Linked DNA regions of Homo sapiens: region 2 is linked to region 1. Evidence: promoter capture Hi-C in 16 types of primary human blood cells and fetal thymus (Javierre and others, 2016). All regions are on one chromosome and are shown on one strand. The core of a region is centred on a gene start or on the middle of the fragment in contact, and the rest is flanking DNA. Distances in the headings are between cores, read along the strand shown. Region 1 holds the start of RPL36AL (ribosomal protein L36a like). Region 2 overlaps NIN (ninein).

Region 1 (2,700 bases), core at 59-2,558:
GTTTAAATTACTGGAGGACTAATTTGTCGACCTAAAGAACTGAGGCAAGGCCGAGCACGGTGGCTCATGCTTGTAATCCCAGCACTTTGGGAGGCCGAGAAGGGCGGATCACCTGAGGTCCGGAGTTCGAGACCAGCCTGACCAACATGGAGAAACCCCGTCTCTACTAAAAATACAAAATTAGCCTGGCGTGGTGGTGGTGCATACCTGTAAGGAGAATCGCTTGGGCGGGGTGGGGAGGGGCGGAGGTTGCCGTGAGCCGAGATCGCACCATTGCACTCCAGCCTGGGCAACAACAGCGGAATTACGTCTCAAAAAAAAAAAAGAACTGAGGCACAATTCATATAAGTAGAATGTTTATTTGGGGCAAGTTTGAGGATTGCAACCCAGAGCACAGATTCAAAATGCCCTGAGTAGCAGCAGTTGCAAGTGGGTTTTTAGAGGAAAAAATGGCAGTTCCTAAATTGTCTACCAAGAATTTACATTAAAATAACACAAGCGATTGATTGGCTATACATCATTCTTTTCATGACAAATTCCAGGAACGCGGACATAATGGGTGAAGCAGCTAGTCAGGAATAAAATGCCAGGCATTAAGTGGGGAGGTGTCTGAAGTCCCATACTGCTGTCTCTCTGGGCCCGGCAAATTTTGCACATCTCAAATAATTAACAATGCTCCGAGCCATTCTTCTTTTCTCATATAGAACAAGACTCACGAAAACCGACAGCAGCAGCTTTAGGAGGCCCAATACAGTCCGTTTTCCGTACGAAATGAGTTTAATTTATTGTGACTGCTCCAAAAGAAAAGTGCGGTTCATCTAATTTTCTTCCGAAAAGGAAGTTAAGGACCAGAGTTTCTTTGACCCCCTTCCCCCCACCCACCTCCTCCATTTTCCAGCTCTAGAGAATGGCTGGGGCAGCGCGCGACGTTGTAGCTACGGTTACGACCCGCCCCGTTCCTTCTACGAGAACCACATCAGCGTAGTATCACTTTTCCCCTCCGAAGCACAGTCACCCGTCAGCAGCCTCGAGGGCTGACGTGTCCTTATCAAGCCGGCGCGCCCCGCGATTCTATAGCCGCCATGCCTGAGACCTTTTTCCTGAAGGGAGAAGCCTGCTCTCGAACTAAGGCCGGCGAGGGCCATAGGTCTCGCCTTCCCTTTCCTAAGAAGGCCTAGTCCTACCCAGGATTCTGAGCAAGGGAGGCTCCTATTGGAGCCGCTACAGCCTCGTTCTTAGCTTACCGAGAAACAGCGCCCGACACCTGGCCCTTCGCAGCTCTCGCCTTTCGCAGCTCTCGCCTAACAGGAAAGGGAAGAAACAGGCGGAAGTGGGAACTGCACCTGAGCGACAGTACTGCAAACCAATAGGCAGCCGGCCACGGCGGTCAGGCGCCTTCGGTCGCGTCTGGAAAGCACCAACCAACGGTCTAAGGGGCGGGCCGGAGGGGTGTGGGCCGGAGGGCCGCGGTGTGCCGCGGGGCAGTTGCGGGTTGTCATAACGGTCCCCGCCGGAGTGAGGCGAGGCCGCGTCGCTCAGTTCTGGCCGTCTAGGGCCCCTGTAAGGATGAGAGCGCAGAGGACGCAGGGCCGCTGGAGGCGCAGGTAACGAAGCTAGGGTGCGGTTGGGACCGCGGCTGAGCTTTTTCCGGGACCCGTGGTGCTGAATGGAGAGGACGGAGACGAAGCCGAGCCGCGGCTCCTAGCGGCGGCGCCGATGCTCGAGCTGTAGCTGCCAGGCGAGGATGTGTGGAGCGCAGGCGGCGCGGGGTAAATGAGAGGTCTCGGGCCCCAGGACCCCCGGGGCCCGGGATGAGTTAGCGAGGGCAGCCGCGGGGGCCAGTTCCGACCGTGACAGGCCAAGGCGACGGCCGCCGCCCGCCCGCCCCTTCCGTGCAGAAGCAGCTGCTCCTTTCCGCGCCCGCCCGCCTGCGCTCCCGGCCCTGGAGACCATGAGGTTCCGCATCTACAAACGGAAGGTGCTAATCCTGACGCTCGTGGTGGCCGCCTGCGGCTTCGTCCTCTGGAGCAGCAATGGGCGACAAAGGAAGAACGAGGCCCTCGCCCCACCGTTGCTGGACGCCGAACCCGCGCGGGGTGCCGGCGGCCGCGGTGGGGACCACCCCTCTGTGGCTGTGGGCATCCGCAGGGTCTCCAACGTGTCGGCGGCTTCCCTGGTCCCGGCGGTCCCCCAGCCCGAGGCGGACAACCTGACGCTGCGGTACCGGTCCCTGGTGTACCAGCTGAACTTTGATCAGACCCTGAGGAATGTAGATAAGGCTGGCACCTGGGCCCCCCGGGAGCTGGTGCTGGTGGTCCAGGTGCATAACCGGCCCGAATACCTCAGACTGCTGCTGGACTCACTTCGAAAAGCCCAGGGAATTGACAACGTCCTCGTCATCTTTAGCCATGACTTCTGGTCGACCGAGATCAATCAGCTGATCGCCGGGGTGAATTTCTGTCCGGTTCTGCAGGTGTTCTTTCCTTTCAGCATTCAGTTGTACCCTAACGAGTTTCCAGGTAGTGACCCTAGAGATTGTCCCAGAGACCTGCCGAAGAATGCCGCTTTGAAATTGGGGTGCATCAATGCTGAGTATCCCGACTCCTTCGGCCATTATAGAGAGGCCAAATTCTCCCAGACCAAACATCACTGGTGGTGGAAGCTGCATTTTGTGTGGGAAAGAGTGAAAATTCTTCGAGA
Region 2 (2,700 bases), core at 58-2,557, 1.2 Mb after region 1:
GCAGTTGCAGCCATTTACGAGTTTATATAGGAGAATACTTCCGCCAAAAACCAGTGCTGCTTAGCAGCAAACTGATTACTGTCAGAATGCCTCCTCTCTGCTCAGTGTCTCACTTCTAGCTGGATACCAAAAGCACAACAATATCACTGTGAATGAAATCATGATACAAAAATATAACACGAAAGCTTAAATGCACAGGAAGAAAGTCACATTAAATACATTTGAAAAAATGGCTGGGAGCGGGGGCTCATGCCTGTAATCATAGCACTTTGGGAGGCTGAGGCAGGTGGATCACAAGGTCAGGAGATCGGGGCCATCCTGGCTAACACGTTGAAACCCTGTCTCTACTAAAAATACAAAAAAAAAAAAAAAAATAGCTAGGTGTGGTGGCGCACACCTGTAATCCCAGCTACTCGGGAGGCTGAGGCAGAAGTGTTGCTTGAACCTGGGAGGCAGAGGTTGCAGTGTGCCGAGATCATGCCATTGCACTCCAGCCCAGGAGAGAGCGAGAGACTCCGTATCAAAAAAAAAAAAAAAAAGAAAGAAAAAGAAAAATAACAACCTTTGTCAACTACACTATAATATTTAACTAAGGGAATCCTATCAGCGTTTATTCGAAAATGTAAGCAACCTTTATTATTTTACTATCCTGAAGGATGTAATAAACCCATGCTTTTGTTCAACCTAATAACTGGTAGATTACCCAATCAAGTAGTTAACTCAGGTTAGCTACAGGAAAAAAAAAACAAAAAACAAAAAACACAACAACAAAAAAACGCCATTAGCCTGGCACAATGTGCATTCAGTAACCTGTAATCAACTACTAAGTAAATTACAGAAGCAGAAAACAGAGCTGCATGTTTGTTACAAAAAAAAAAAAAAAGGAGAAAGCTTATAACAACTTCCACTTCTTAAGCCATATTGACTCACATTAATTTAGGATGCCTGAGGCTATGAGTATGGTACCCTGAGGTGTAAGTGAAGGTGATCTTCTCTTCTCACGTCTATGAACAATATTTTCCCAACTTTGTTTTTAAAGTGAGAATTAGGGTATAGATAGATGCTTTGTAATTTTTCCATCCAAAAGCTTGAATAAATGGTTAATTGCTGACTTAAATTGCAATAAAGAAGTGTCCTAATTTCAAACAAGGATGCTCACTTTCAGAATCTCATAATCTTTTCAAAATTCTATTTTATTCATAAATAGGATAAAAATCTTTTTGCAAGCTTCACTAAGTCTCTCCATAAGCCCCTGCCCAACAGATGCAAGTTCAATAGCTAGAATTCAAACCAGATAATTTATTGGCTTACAAATGAATTGGCATCTATAAAAATAAGCCTTCTAAAAAGGCTTCACGCTGTTTAAATCCTTCTAAAATGCTCTGGCTAAGCTTGCCCACCCTTTATCAATGTAAGACTGATAAAATGCATTTTCATTATCAACATAAAATGGAAGCATCAAGATAGTTGAAATGTTAGTTTAGAAAGTCATTTGCAGTGACATTTAAAACAATTTATTTGAACATTTGACTCATGATAAGAATACTGCCTATTACATTAAGATTGGCTGTTCAGAATTCACTGGAGCCCTATTCTCCCCCTCTGTGACAGTTAACATCTTTTGATATTAAGGGTCATTACACATCTAAAATGAAAAAGAAATAAGAAAAAAGAACCCCACGCCATTCTGAGCAAGTGCCTATTAAAATGACTGATCCTTGACATTTTAATGCAGACTGTATGATGGCTTCCTCTCTATTGCCCCCTGTGAAGCCTTTCCCTGTATTGGTAATAACTTTGCCGATGTCCAACCCTGTGGAACATTCATCCTACCTTTTCCCCACTCTGCAGAATGCTTCCCTCTAAAGAATCACCAGAGAACAGGGAAAATAAACAAATCTGCAAACAAATTCCCGGGCAGTTCACATCACCTCCCAAAGGACACTGACAATAGCTGAAGAGACCACAACACACAAACTCGTTTTTCAGCCAGCCTGTAATGTTCCTCCTATACACACTCTGGAAATCCTCAGCTCCCTTCAACTCCGGAGCAAGAGCCACCAATATTCCAGGTCAGCCACCTATATAATATGCTCACCACGAGAGAAGACTCAAGGTAAAATTAAACTGACAGAAAAAAGGAATTTTCCTTGTTAGATCATCAAGCCTCCGGAATCATGCAAACATGTGTGTATGTTATGGTGTTTACGGGGACCTAACTGAGAAACGTCGTGGTTCCAGGGGCTTCCCTCATGTGTCAGGATGGACTTTATCAGGATTCTCATCCTACAAAGCTACCATGTCAGTCACAAAAGACAACTACGCAATCTGTTTCGATGTAATAAATTCAGGAGTTGAGCTGTATGGCAAGCCCATCTTAGAAGTCCTCAACACCAGGAGAGGATCTGTCCTAGTTAGGAGCAGAAAGCAGATCTCATAATATCCAAGTTGTCTGGAAACATGATATATGGTAGGGCAGTCTTTCCAGCTCCCATTTTGTTGGTGCCTTCACCTCGGGTTGTCAGGGCTGGGGTTAGGGAAATTGCCTCTTTCCGTCTCTATCTCTTTTAACTTCGCAGCGAGAGCTGGAAGCAGTGACTGTTCCCATCACCTAGTGTCCTTCTGTCAGGGGCCGCTTCGGTAGCTACAGAAGCCTAGCCGCTGGAAGCTTCCTTCCCCGACACTCCATACCTCCATGCC

The links. Contacts are between HindIII fragments. The CHiCAGO score rates a contact against its expected background, and 5 or more counts as called.
Region 2: a fragment that was not itself captured here is called in contact with the fragment with the promoter of RPL36AL in region 1 in 2 of 17 cell types (naive CD4 T cells and non-activated CD4 T cells); the score reaches 6.6 in naive CD4 T cells.

Annotation. Positions count from the first base shown.
Region 1 is chr14:49,619,318-49,622,017 of GRCh38, forward strand. RPL36AL (ribosomal protein L36a like) reads right to left here and starts at 1,309. Exons shown (of 2, transcript NM_001001.5): 1 at 1,245-1,309. It overlaps MGAT2 (alpha-1,6-mannosyl-glycoprotein 2-beta-N-acetylglucosaminyltransferase), which reads left to right and starts at 1,482. Exons shown (of 1, transcript NM_002408.4): 1 at 1,482-2,700. The coding sequence starts at 1,952. RefSeq lists enhancers at 1,084-1,193, 1,582-2,132 and silencers at 1,354-1,563, 1,864-1,973. The HindIII fragment of the contact is 17,089 bases long and covers 1-2,700 here.
Region 2 is chr14:50,827,235-50,829,934 of GRCh38, forward strand. The region is part of intron 2 of NIN (ninein); the gene reads right to left. Among named protein-coding and RNA genes, the nearest start is that of NIN, 2.6 kb to the right of the region's middle. RefSeq lists an enhancer at 2,610-2,659. The HindIII fragment of the contact is 164 bases long and covers 1,226-1,389 here.